3 separate regions of the Homo sapiens genome follow, and all the other regions are linked to region 2. Evidence: promoter capture Hi-C in 16 types of primary human blood cells and fetal thymus (Javierre and others, 2016). All regions are on one chromosome and are shown on one strand. Each heading gives the region's core, a stretch centred on a gene start or on the middle of the fragment in contact. The rest is flanking DNA. Distances are from core to core; before and after follow the strand shown. Region 1 holds the start of ZNF619 (zinc finger protein 619). Region 2 holds the start of RPSA (ribosomal protein SA). Region 3 holds the start of OXSR1 (oxidative stress responsive kinase 1).

Region 1 (4,386 bases), core at 1,249-3,748, 1.1 Mb before region 2:
TTTGGATGAGACAATTAAACTTTCTGTGCCTCAGTTGCCCCCATTTGTAAAACTGGGATAACAATAGTAATTATCTGAAAGGACTCTTACAAGAATGGCATTAAGTTATTATCTGTAACGCACGAAGATATCACCTGGCACATGATATCATCTAAATCTCAGCACTTACTACAACCACAGATGAGATTGGGGGAACTTCCTAGAAGATTCTAAATGACAAATGTTCCTCTTAGAGATTGTAGCAAAGACTGACAGGTGTGTGTGTACCCCCTTTCTTTCTTAGTATTGGAATCCTAATTTTACTTGAGGTTGCACTCAACCCGGGCAACCAAGTGGGGCCAATGAAATGCAAGTATAAATATTGTTGGGGACTTATGGGAAGGTTCCTAAAAGAGAGAGGTTCATCTTTTTTTGGGCAGCTCCTCTTCTAGCTGGAATGCACACATGATGGCTAGAGATCAAGCAGCCACCTTGGACAATAAAGTGGCCTAGAGCAGGTGAGACACTGCTAGGATGGTAGAGCAGAAAGACAGAGCCTGAGAGCATAATAGGGGAGCTGCCACACTAGCCCTGTATTGACTCTTGATACTTTTGTATGAGAGAGAAGCCTTTACCTCGTTTAATCCACTGTCATTTGGGGTCCTCTTTGGGGAATCTAATCCTAAGTGATTTCTGTACTTCAGGCAAAGCACCAGGAGAGCACAGCATACCCCCACAGCACACTTCCTGACTTGTAGGAATGAATTTTTGCTGAAGTTCTCGAACAGAAGTGGATGGTCCAATATCCACCAAAAGGACACACACATTGTTTTTAAGTCCTTGGGATGGAGCTTTCTCATTACAAGATACATCCATTACATGATAAACTCAGCTTTCTCATTCCATGATCTAGGACACTGGAGAAAAATCCAGTAAAACCATCATCTACCACCAAGAAAACTGGAGGGAAAAGTCCTCCCAATGCTACATGAATTTGTAGCCAAGAAAGGATATAGACTCTCACAGAGGTTAGACTGACGTCTTCGCATTGAGCTAAAGGCACTGGCTTCAGCTCCAAACTCATCATTCCTCCAAAAATACATCTCCCTCATCAATCTACATTTTCCACATGTTTCCAGTTCTGGCTTCACTGTACCTTAACTGAGTGGTCTGCAGGGTAAACTCCTCCCTTGGAAGTGTCTATTTAACCTCAGAAATGGCTTTTCTTTGTGTACTGTGAACGCAGACTAGCACTCCTCAAATTTTAATCTGCCCTTTAATTTTCCAGATCTTGTAAAAATGTAGATTCTGATTTAGGAGATCTGGGGAGGGGGCCTGACATTTTGCCTAACAAGAGCCCTCTGTAATGCAAAAGCTGCTCATCTCCAGGCCACACTTTCAGTTCTCATGAATGCAGATTCCCACTTTCTAGGATAATTCATTCCTTCTTTTCCAACCTACCTGACTCTCCCAAATTCACCTACTCTCGTTCGTCAACTCCCCTCGCATACTGTTTTTACATACTTTATTGAAGGATGTAAAACTAAGCATGAGACTGGCCAAGTCAGGCTACTGGGGCTGTACTGACCTTCCATATCTGTTCTGAGTATGGAAAGCTGAAAGAAAGCTCTGCTCACCTGGAACCACACTGTCTGGAGCATGGCTGATGACCCCTGGCTTCATGCACTGCCCTCTAGGTTTGAAAAAGTAAGAACCTGCGGAGCTAAGAGAGAACCACAATGAGACTGATCTGTCTCGTCTCCTACACTTGCCGCCTCTTCCCCTCTGTCTCCTGCCACTAGCATTGCAGATATTCTTGGCACACTAGCTGCTGTCATTCACCCTCTCCACTGATTCATGGGATGTTGCAAATGCTCCCTCTGCATATTCTCCTATAGATCTGCTTGGTGACACTGGAAACTCTAGAAAGAATATCTGTAAAGTAAGAGTCAAGAACTGCAGTGGATTCGTGGCTGTTTTTTAAAAAAAATTCTTGGCCCCACTATGAATGCATTACTAAACAGTTTGTATTGAATGCTTCTAGTGTTCATGGCAAAAACCCAAAACAAGTCTCTGGAGAGAAAGTAGGATATAACGGGGACCCCTAAACAAACCACAGGCTGCAGGACAAAATATAAGTGGTGACCCAGCCCCGGGTGACAAGGGTAAGACGCTTAATGTCCCAGCGGGTGATGCTGACCGAAGACCTAACCGGGATCTGAACGCTCCACCCTGGGAAGCAGGAGACCCTATAGTCACGGCTCCCATCCTCCCCATGAATACCGCGACCCGAGGACATCAGGCCAGCTCCTCGGAGCAGGAAGGTCGAGGGCGTCTCTGAAGACTGGGGACTGGGCCCAGGCTCTGGCGGCGGCGCGGGCCCCTCGGCGACCTCTGCAAGGGCCCAAAGCCTGACCTCCAGAACAGGTAGCCGAGTCAGGGAAGCCCGGGAAACTCAACCCGAGCGCTCGCAAGGTGGCCAAGACGGAAGCATTAGCTGGCCGGCCGTCGGTCCCTACAGCCTCTCTAGGAAGCCGGGAGGCTGGCCCTTCTCTATGGTTCCCACGAAACGAAACTCCAACCCTTCGCTTCCCTTCTCCACAACCGCTCTGCGCCTGGTTTGTTTGTTTTTTAATTTTAATTTTTTCGTGTGTTTTTTGAAACGGGGGTCTCGCTATGTTGCGCAGGCTGTTCTCGAACTCCTGAGCTCAAGCTGTCCGCCCGCCTCGGCCTCCCAAAGTGCTGGGAATACAGGCGTGAGCCACCGCGCCCGGCCGCTCCTGTTTTTCTTTATTATTTTCTCTTATGTCTTAGTACCCCAACTACATGATAAATTCCTCCATATTTAACAATTTGTAACTTAATTAACTGAATTCCTAATTCCTTACCTAATTACTTAATTCCTAACTTAACCTTCTAATGAATTTATAGCCCCTGTCTCCCACTGAATGACTGTGACCTAAGACCATGGGGTATGGTGTCTCATTGTCTGCGTTCCTGGCTCCACTCTATATGGACTTGCTCAAGTTATACTTAAATCGTTGCCTCAATTTATCAGTTGAGAATGGTAAAAGTTTGTAATTTATAAATTCAGTGAATTAACTGAGTCAATTCATGCAACAGTTTTGTAAACCAAAAATAAAATTCTAAGTCCCCCAACCAACTGAATGGACCACTTCTCTCAGCCAAAACATTCCAAAGAAAACCTGGCAATCTAGTTCAGGCCATGATGGGAAGCAGGGGATCGGACTTGCCTCGTTATGCCCTTGGAATTCAGGCACTACGGACCAGCATTAACATTAAAACAGAGATCTTGAGACTGACTAAAACTTTTTTTTTTTTTTTCCGAGATGGAGTCTTACTCTGTAGCCCAGGCTGGAGTACAGTTTCCCGATCTCGGCTCACTGCAACCTCCGCCTCCCGGGTTCAAGCAATTCTCCTGCCTCAGCCTCCTGAGTAGCTGGGATTACAGGAACGTGCCAACACGCCCGGCTAATTTTTGTATTCTTAGTAGAGACGGGATTTCACCATGTTGACCAGGCTGGTCTTGAACTAGACCTCGTGATCGCCCGCCTCGGCCTCCCAAAGTGCTGGGATTACAGGCGTGAGCCACCACGCCCAGCCCAAAACAAACTCTTTATAGCAATAAGACATCAAATTCTAACCTGACTCTAGTATAGTCTCATGTGACAGATAACAGGCCCTGAAATAAACTGAAGTATTTTACCCTAAAATGTATTTCTTTGACATATTTTGAAATGACCCTGTAAAGCTGTCTTTTGTGAAGAAAATCTACATCCTGTAAAGAATCCCCTTCACTTTCAAAGTGTTTTCCTTGATCCAGTAGAGAATTAACTAAGAGTTTGGCACCTTTTGAAGTCTGGTAAGAAACATTTACAATCGTTTCTCTCTGAAGCCTGCTACCTGGAGGTTTCATCTGCATAATAAGAACATTGGTCTCCAAAACCCCTTATCTTAACTCAGACATTCCCTTCAATTGATTCCAGGTCTTTAGCTAATAACTTTTTTTTTTTTTTTTTTTTTTTGAGACAGAGTCTTGCTCTGTCGCCCAGGCTGCAGTGCAGTGGCGCGATCTCGGCTCACTGCAAGCTCTGCCTCCCGGGCTCATGCCATTCTCCTGCCTCAGCCTCCTGAGTAGCTGGAACTACAGGCGCCCGCCACCATGCCCAGCTAATTTTTTGTATTTTTAGTAGAGACGGGGTTTCACCGTGTTAGCCAGGATGGTCTCGATCTCCTGACCTCGTGATCCGCCCGCCTCGGCCTCCCAAAGTGCTGGGATTACAGGCGTGAGCCACCGTGCCCAGTCCATAACTCTTTCAACTAATTGCCAGTTAGAAATCTTCAAAAGAAAAGAAAGGAAAGGAAAGGAAAGGAAAGGAAAGGAAA
Region 2 (4,454 bases), core at 220-2,719:
CCTTAGCCAACTTAATGCCTTCCATCCTCTGGTTCTTCCAAACCATATTGTTCATTCCCACCTCTTACCCCACTTTCCACTCAAAATTCAGTTCAATAGCCTGTGTAAGTACCTATGAAGTTGAAGGCACTATGCGAGCTATTAGAAACTCAGCCAATGAACTTTCTCATGTTCATGACCCAACCCAAGTCCCGTAACTCAGACAACTGACATATTCCTCCCCTGGAGCAGAAATCTTTTCTCTCAATAACAAGAACATTTATTTAAAGTATGTTTTCAACGTAGGGGTCTGGCTTCATTTAAGGAAGATAGAAAGAAATTACCCAGAACTAACCACGAGAATAGCAAGCTCAAAATTTGTACTTACAGCTGGAGTAACAAAAAATTAAAGCAATGACTAACCATCACTTTTCCTTTTATAGATGTACTGTTCCATCTGGAAGTCAAGATTGGTGCCACCTAAGTGGGTTCCTGCTGCAAGGAACTTAAGGACATCCTCCTCCTTCATTTGCAGGACATCAAGGGCTCCGGACATTGTGAAAATTTCCCTTTAAGTTACGACGGGAATCTGAAATAAGAGAGCAACCTATTTCTTTTCATTCCATTGAGTTAAGTAGGGCACACCCTTAAAAGCAACCAAAAACTCCATCTGCTATAGTGTCAGGCATTGAGCTTACAGTGTAGTGAAGGGTAAACAGAAAGTTAACCCATACATGTCGTGTATTACGGAACAGCGCACATCTTACTGAGGAAATAGTGTGGACGGCAGAGTAACCGAGTAATAAAACTACACGAAATTAGCGAATGGAAATTCAACACTTCTCAAGATAGGAATTAAGGAAAAGTTGTGGATGCGCCAAGTTAACAACTAGATACAAAAGAGCAGCCATGTTTGGAATATGCAAACTAAAGGCAAAAAAGGCATGAATTGTTTTCAGACATTTTCAAGCAGATTGTAGGCGGATGCTTTGGAATTACTTCGCTGTGCTGTCACCACTTGTTTGTCTAAAAACCCGAGAACCTTAACTCCTGACCCGCACGGCGCGAAGGGAAAACCCGACCAGCCCAAGTAGCTGGTGTAAATCAGCGCCTGGGCCTAGACTCACCGCCGTGTGGGACTCCGAAGGGATAGCAACACAGGATGTTAGCCCGCTTTCTGCACTCCCGCCCACCCGCGGCCTGGTCCGAACCCCAGCTCGGAGCCTCCGCTGGAGGGCGGCCTCCACCCGCTCCCGGGGCACTCTGGGAACCCGCCAGCCCGAGCCTGGCCACGTGCGGGCCGCAGGCCTAAGGTGGGGCGCGCCGGGCGGGAGACAGATCCAGTCTGACCGGCTTTCATCACTAGTCTTCTCACCCTTCATTTGAGCAGGAAAAGCTCATTTTTCTAGCCCTGGAAGGCGCCAGGGACGCTACACGGAACTCACCCAGAACAACGCCGTATGGACCCCTCTGCAGGTAGCACGGAAAAGACAGGCGGCAGGAAATGACGTCCTTATGTACTCCGTTGTCAGCCAATGGCAAAGAAAGTCGAGCGGAAGAAGGGCGGAGCCGGAGAAGAACGCTGCCGGGACTGGGCTTTTTCTTCAGGAAGGCGGGCTTGCGCCGCAGGAGCGGGCCTCTGGGCTGTAGCCGGTAGCGGCATCCTGGTCGGATCTGGGGCGCTTGTGACTTTGGGGTTTCTAGTGCCACAGCGACGCCCTGTGCATAATTCCTGTCCAGAGCGCGGAACTCAAGTTAGTCAGCCAGGCGGGGCGTTCTTACCCAGCCCTTGTACCTGCGAATATGAGCGGCTTTCTAGCCTAAGCTGCCATTTTGTTACCTGAAAAGTAGGAAGGTTTGTTCGACACAACAAATTGTTAGGTAAACAAAAACTTGAAGATTTATTTTATTTTATTTTCCTGGAGAACAGTTTAACAGGACGTAATTCAGATTTAAATGTTCACTTAAGGGAAGTTTTCTCTGAAAAAGTTAAAAAAGATAAGATTGAACTGATCGTATGCGTTATGTCTATCTCATGTATCTATCCATCTATCACCTGGGGGAAGTTTCCCTGAAAAAGTTAAAAAGGACAAGATTGAACAGATGGTATGGATTATATCTATCTTTTTTTTTTTTTTTTTTTTGGTAGAAGAAAAATTTTGCAATATCCATCAGTAGGAGATAAGTTTGCCGGGCGCGGTGGCTTGTGCCTGTAATCCCAGCACTTTGGGAGGCCGAGGTGGGTGGATTGCCTGAGCTCAGAAGTTCAAGACTAGCCTGGGAAACATGGGGAGACCCCCATCTCCACAAAAAATACAAAAATTAACCAATCATGATGGTGCGTCCCTGTAGTCTCAGCTACTCAGGAGGCTGAGGCAGGAGGATAGCTTGAGCCTAGAGGTCAAGTCTGCAGTGAATGTGATTGCACCGCTGCACTCCAGCCTGGGCAATAGAGCGAAATTCTGTCTCCAAAAAACAAACAAAAAAATAGGAGTTAATTGAAGGGGCGCGGTGGCTGTAATCCCAGCACTTTCGGAGGCTGACGCGGGCGGATCCCTTGAGGCCAGGAGTTCAAGAGACCAGCCTGGCCAACATGGCGAAACCCGGTATCTACTAAAAATTCAAAAATTAGCCAGGCATGCCTGTAATCCCAGCTACTGGGGAGGCTGAGGCGGGAGAATTGCTTGAACCCAGGAGGCAGAGGTTGTAGTGAGTGGAGATTGCGCCACTTGCACTCCAGCCTGGGCGACAGAGTAAGACTCCGTCAAAAAAAAAAAAAGTGCAGGTTCCTCTCTGGGGCCTGCTGAGTCAATCTGATTTCTGAGCCCACCCTAAAATGAACTCGTAGACCCTTATGGCCACTCTTCCAAAGGACAGCACATCCAGGTTCTCCTGCAAGTGGCTCTGCAGCTCCACTGAAGCCAGTATGATTTTCTGAGGAGCTTGGAAACCCTTGGACCCTAGCACAGGTCACCCCCAGGCTGCTCTGCTTCATCACCCACCAAGGCTGAAGCACCTGGGGCTTGAGGGACAAATTCAGAGAAGTCACAGCCCCTTGCGGCAAATGCAAATGCCTCCCGCTTCTACGCTTTGTTATGGGAAGAGGAGGCATTCAGTTTGTTGGCAGAAACTCAGGCCACAAGCCTCCTCAGAGGCCCCTGAGTCCCAAAACAATGCCCTGCCCCCTGCACCCAAATGTACTCCTGCTTAACCCTTCACGTGTGGATTGGGATTGCTGAGTAGTGAGTGCAGCTCTGCAGGGTTCCTCCAGGGGCCTCAGCCTTGGCATTAGGATCACCTGGGCAGCTTTTAAAATCTTACACCTGGGCTGAATATATCAGAATCTCTGAGTGAGACCCAAGCATCAGTAGCTTTTAAAGCTCTTGTAGGGGCTTCCCCTCCACCCTCTGAGTGTTCACTGCTAAAATGAACTGACAATAGACAAATTAACAGGAGAAGAAACATACACTTTTTTTTTTTGAGACGGAGTTTTGCTCTTGTTGCCCAGGCTGGAGTGCAGTGGCTCAATCTCGGCTCAACGAAACCTCCACCTCTCGGGTTCAAGCAATTCTCCTGCCTCAGCCTCTCGAGTAGCTGGGATTATAGGCATGCGCCACCACACCCGGCTAATTTTGTATTTTTAGTAGAAATGGGGTTGCTCCATGTTGGTCAGGCTGGACTTGAACTCCTGACCTCAGGTTATCTGCCCACCTCGGCCTCCCAAAGTGCTGGGATTACAGGCGTGAGCCACCACACCAGGCCAAACATACACATTTATTAATGTGCTTATGCACAGGAGCCACACGAAATATAAGACTCAAAGAAGGGCCAGATGGCTGAAGCTTAAATAGCATCTACTTCACAGGGAAGGGAGATGGGATGGTAAACAATTTAGAGGGCTAGTAAGTGATTTTTGGAAGGATAGGAATGAGTTCAAAGAACAGAAAATTTGCCTGAGACAAAGTTCCTGTGAGCTCTGGGGGAAACAGCAGCAAAGGGTAAGGGGAGGAACTTCACTGTGACCAAAGGTTGCCTTATTAGGCAAATAATGTCTCCTGGAAAATCTCTCAAAAGCTGCCCTCAGAAAAATAGATGAAGAGTCTGTCTGGGCATGGTGATGACTTTTAGTCTTTTCTCTTCCCAGTGGTTAATATTTCCTGGTTACCTGATGAGATTCTTAGGGAGGAAGTTTTAAGACTATTGTATTTTATTCTGGAGGAACCTACCTTATTCAGATAAGGGAACTTCAGACAAAGCCCCTCCGGATGCTTTGGGAAAAGGGGATTGAGAGATGGGGTTAGGGGAAGGTCAGAAAGAAACCTTGGTTCTGACGCTATTTCAGAAGCCTTTCAATTTTCTTTAATTCAAAGCATGCAGCATGCCAAAGTGCCTTATTCAGTCAGGGGTATCATTTTCTGAGCCCCAACATTTTCCAGATGATTCCAATGTGCAGCCATATTGAGTTTAAAAACCAC
Region 3 (4,766 bases), core at 122-2,621, 1.2 Mb after region 2:
TTCCTTGAAATCACCCTAAGTAGATCTCCAGGTTATTCTCTATCAGAACATCTTGTTTATCTCCTTCATGGCACTTGCCAAAGCCTCTTCAAATTTTTTTTTTTTTTTTTTTTTTTTTGAGTCAGAGTCAGGGTTTGTCGCCCAGGCTGGAGTGCAGTGGCGCGATCTCAGCTCACTGCAAGCTCCGCCTCCCGGGTTCAAGGATTCTTCTGCCTCAGCCTCCCGAGTAGCTGGGATTACAGGCGCGCACCACCACACCCAACTAATTTTTGTATTTTTAGTAGAGACGGGGTTTCACCATATTGGCCAGGCTGGTCTCGAACCCCCGACCTCGTGATCCGCCCGCCTCGGCCTCCCAAAGTGGTGGGATTACAGGCGTGAGCCACCACGCCCAGCCCTTCTTACTTCTTTTTGTCTTCTTATTTAATGTCTACCTCCCCGACTGGAAAGTCAGTTGGAAGGAGTCGTAAGTTGGGTCTCGGTTGCTCAGCGCGGTTCCTGCAGCTTCACCTGGAGGATCCCCAGTTCGCCCCAGCACGGATGGAGGAAAAACTTAAAGCTCCCTATCTATCCCACAATCCCAGAAATCGATGGCTGTGCCCACTTCAAGATCCCATTTCTCACACAGCCTCGGAAAGGCCTGTCCCACACCTGCACTTTCTTTCTCTACAAGACACATGGGCCGCTCCTGTCCACACATTTGAGAATCCTGTACACAAATCTCTCCTGAGCCCCCTCAAGCCTCACCCCACCCCACGCCACCTCACAGGCGCGCGCCTCAAAACCCCCTTCCCGTCTCACACGCGCTCCTCGACACAAGCGTCCTACAAGCCCCCAGCCCCACAAGCGCCCCACGAATTCCTATGAGGGCTGCGCTCCCCGAGCTCCCGCGGCTCCCCACGTTCCCGTGTCCCCCGCCTCCCAGCGCCGCGCCTCCCCCCTCCGCAGCGCCTGCTCTCACCGATCACCTCCTGCAGCTCGTAATCGTCCCTGTTGATGGACCAGGGCAGGGCGCTCGAGTCCTCGGACATGACGGCGGCAGCGGCTCGCGGTCCTCCCTCAAACTCGCTGACCTCGCTCGTCTCCTCGCCGCGCGTCTCCCCACCCCCAACAGCCGCCGCCGCCGCCGCCGCGCCCCCACCAATCGTCTCGGAACAGCCACGGGTCGGACGGCGCCGGGGCGCGGGGTCACCGCGCGGCAGAGCAGCGGGGGCTCAGAGCTCCGGCGGACCTCGCCTCCTGCTCCTCCGAGTCCGGCACTGCCCGGCCCAGCCCACGTCCTGTCCTCGGCCTCCGCAGCAGCAGCGACAGAAGCTTTGCCTGGGCCCAGCCCCTCTGTCCCGCCCTCCACCCCAGCCCCACGCACGGGCCAAACTTTCCCCTCTTCCTCCACCTGCCGACACGCAGCGCGCTGACGTCACTGCGCTGGTCACGCCCCACCTCGGGCCCGCCTCCGGCCGCCATCTCCAGTGTGGCTGGATGTAAAGTGAGCAAGCTAGAAACCCGAGAAGGTAGGAGTTCGCGGTGAAAGGGAAGAAGTGCTTAGGTAGAGGTTCATCGAAGGCATCGAAAAGCCGTAGGAGAGCCTCAAGTAGCACAGAGGCAGTAGCCACACTAAGCATGGCGACCAAAGGGCAGCAAAGTAGAAGGGGCAGAGCCACTTCTAGCGCCTGGGGCACGCTGCTGTCTCCGTCGTCGCATTCATTGGTTTGTTTGAGAAGGAATCAGAAAAGCAATGGGTGTGGGTAGACGTCAGTCATAAATTGGTCCCGCCTCCAGGCTCTTAGCGCGCTTCTCCGTGTTAGGGCTGCAGCCCTTCAAGAGCTCCGTTACCGCGCTCGTCTTACCACTTCCTCTGGAGTGACGTCACGGCGTAACCGTCACACCCTCGAGACGTGCGAAAGGCTCTACAGGGTGTGGAGAAACCCTGAGGGAGCGGCTGGGTGGGGTAGCCTTTGGGTGTGGACCACTGCCAACTAGGATAAAAGGCCTTGGGCCACTGGTCGGAGTGAAACTGGAAGTTTGCCTGGTGACATTTTTTTCAAGGCGGACGTTCTCTCTAACGCTTGTCGCGGCGCTGTCTCTCGCGGGTCCACCCTGCACTGGGCGGGTTCTGTCCATTCGCAGCTTTAGATCTGAAGCTCAAATAAGCACCTGCCTTGAGGGACTCGGGAGGTTGTCTTTCTTCCCCCCGGACAGGGCTTGGGGTATTAAACAAGTGAGATCGACCCACGGATTTGGGGGTTGTCTCACGGGCGTTGGCTTTTGTCGCCCCCACTGAACAGTTTTCTCAGTTTGACTACGTACGGCCGTTAGAGAAATTAGCGAGCTGAAGACTGAACACGCTTGGTAAATTGGATTTTAAAAAATAATGAGCATCCAACAGGGATAGGGCTAGGTGCGAAACTGTTCTAGGTTGGACACCTTTCAGTCCAACGGCAGTCTTTAAGGAAGAGACCTTAGGCCGGGTGCGGTGGCTCACGCCTGTAATCCCAACACTTTGGGAGGCGGAGGCGGGCGGACCACCTGAGGTCAGGAGTTCGAGACCATCCTGACCAACATGGTGAAACTCCCTCTCTACTAAAATACAGAAAAATCGCTGGGCGTGGTGGCTGGCGCCTGTAATCCCAGCTACTAGGGAGGCTGAAGCAGGAGGCGAAGGTTGCAGTGACCCGAGAGCATGCCACTGCACTCCAGTCTGGGCAACAGACGGAGACACCGTCTCAGAAAAAGGAAGAGACCTTCACCTAGGCCCAGCTGAGACGGAGCAGGGACCCCTTTTAGGGCCTGCAGGCCCTCAACCATGGAAATAAAGGAAAATCTTGAGTTACTTCAAGAGAAATTCCCGGCACTTAGCTAGCCTTGAAAAGTTAATGAACCCCTTGATAAGCAAGAGGGCAGTAATAACTTTAAACATTAGCCAAAGAAACTAAAATAACTGGATGTTTGGTTCCCTATAAAAACTAAAGATAACATCAACACATGTCCCTGAGTTGTTTTTTAGAAACCCAGACCCCCACCAAATGGATCTGCTGGCACATAGACCTCAGAGAATGGGGAGCTAAGGACTGAACTCTGACTGGTGGTTTGTTTTTTCTCTAAGTTTCTTCTTCCTGAAGAAGGTCATGCCCACAAGCTGTAGCTAACATTCTTTTCTACTGATCCGAAATTTTTAGACAAAGCTTCACCTCTTTTATCAATCGCAAATCAGAAAATCTTTGAATCCACCTATGACCTGTGGGCTCCTGCTTGGAGATGTCCCCCCTTTTTAGGTCAAACCAATGTATAACCTCTGTGTATTGATTTATGACTTTACCTGTAACTTCTTCTTTTCCGAAATTACCCCTATCTTTAAGAATGCTTGGCTGGGCGCGGTGGCTCACGCCAGGAAGTTTAGGTCCCCAGTATGTATTTCATAAGTTTATGAAATATGTATTATATATAATGTATATTTATATATATATTAAGCTTGAGCTACACTAATTCTCCCCTCTTGCTAGGCGCCCTGCCTTTCTACTGCAGCAAAACCTCCGTGTGGCAATCTAATGTCACTGCACTGGGCAAGTAGACCTTAGTTTGGTTCTAAAACACCGCCAAGCACTGGAAGCTCTGCGCTGAGCTCTGCTGTGGGAGGTCCAACTGACCATGAAACCAGTCAACTAGAAGCTACTAGCGGGTTTCCACCTAGTTGGTTGGATTGGAGAACGTTTCATGAAGAAGGTAGCATTTGTACCAGATCTTGCAAAGTTAACATGATTTCAACAGGTGCACATTTAGAGGATAGAATAGTCCAGGCTCAGCAAAGGTGCCGCAGTTCCAGAAAGCATAGCACAGGCCTTGCTGTAAGTGGTTTTCAGCCATTACTACTGACAGTTTCTTTACCATATGTTCTGCCTTTTTCTTTTTGCAGGGAGGAGAGGGATGGGGATCAAATGTATCAGAAAGGAGCTAAATCTGATGGTAAGAATTAGCCTCAAGGTTTGTACCAATAGAAAGGTCTACAAACCAGAAATTCTTGGCTTGGGGTTGTTGAGTTGTATGACCCATGGACATACTTCAGTTTTGTTTTTGTTTTGTTTTGTTTTATTTTGTTTTGTTTTTTTCTCCCTGGCACGGTGACTCAAACCTGCAATCCCAGCATTTTGGGAGGCCCAGGCAGGTGGATCACCTGAGGTCAGGAGTTCGAGACCAGCCTGGCCAACAGGGTAAAATCCCATCTCTACTAAAAATACAAAAATTAGCCACGCGTGGTGGCTGGCGCCTGTAATCCCAGCTACTCAGGAGGTTGAGGCAGGAGAATCGCTTGAACCCAGGAGGCAGAGGTTGTAGTGAGCCAAGATCATGCCACTGCACTCCAGCCTTAGCGACAGAGAGTGAGACTCCATCTCAAAAAAGAAAAAAAGAAATTATATATGTATTATATATGAAATATAGACAATATGTATGAAGTATATATACTATATATAAATATATATGAAATATGAAATATATAACATATATGAAACAACATGAAATCTATAATATATATGAAATATATAACATGAAATCTATAATATATATGAAATCTATAATATATATGAAATCTATAATATATGAAATATATAATATATATGAAATATATAATATATGAAATCTATAATATATGAAATATATAATATATATGAAATCTATAATATATGAAATATATAATATATATGAAATCTATAATATATGAAATATATAATATATATGAAATCTATAATATATGAAATATACATAATATATGA

Evidence for each region. The method cuts DNA at HindIII sites, captures the fragments that hold promoters and counts their contacts. A CHiCAGO score of 5 or more calls a contact.
Region 1: the fragment with the promoter of ZNF619 here is called in contact with the fragment with the promoter of RPSA in region 2 in 11 of 17 cell types (non-activated CD4 T cells, activated CD4 T cells, naive CD8 T cells and 8 more); the score reaches 10.1 in non-activated CD4 T cells.
Region 3: the fragment with the promoter of OXSR1 here is called in contact with the fragment with the promoter of RPSA in region 2 in 7 of 17 cell types (naive CD4 T cells, total B cells, naive CD8 T cells and 4 more); the score reaches 11.0 in naive CD4 T cells.

What each region holds. Positions count from the first base shown.
Region 1 is chr3:40,475,234-40,479,619 of GRCh38, reverse strand. ZNF619 (zinc finger protein 619) reads right to left here and starts at 2,498. Exons shown (of 5, transcript NM_001145093.4): 1 at 2,263-2,498; 2 at 1,617-1,702. The coding sequence starts at 1,640. RefSeq lists an enhancer at 2,185-2,324. The HindIII fragment of the contact is 7,181 bases long and covers 1-4,386 here.
Region 2 is chr3:39,403,735-39,408,188 of GRCh38, reverse strand. RPSA (ribosomal protein SA) reads right to left here and starts at 1,469. Exons shown (of 7, transcript NM_002295.6): 1 at 1,425-1,469; 2 at 403-568. The coding sequence starts at 535. RefSeq lists a silencer at 1,086-1,265 and enhancers at 1,436-1,575, 957-1,748, 3,334-4,126. The HindIII fragment of the contact is 4,276 bases long and covers 1-3,823 here.
Region 3 is chr3:38,162,142-38,166,907 of GRCh38, reverse strand. OXSR1 (oxidative stress responsive kinase 1) reads right to left here and starts at 1,371. Exons shown (of 18, transcript NM_005109.3): 1 at 962-1,371. The coding sequence starts at 1,031. LOC101928234 (a long non-coding RNA gene) reads left to right here and starts at 1,432. Exons shown (of 5, transcript XR_940733.2): 1 at 1,432-1,511; 2 at 3,911-3,960. RefSeq lists silencers at 877-926, 977-1,366 and enhancers at 598-1,213, 1,607-1,706, 1,977-2,106, 2,257-2,336, 1,497-2,696. The HindIII fragment of the contact is 1,868 bases long and covers 1,317-3,184 here.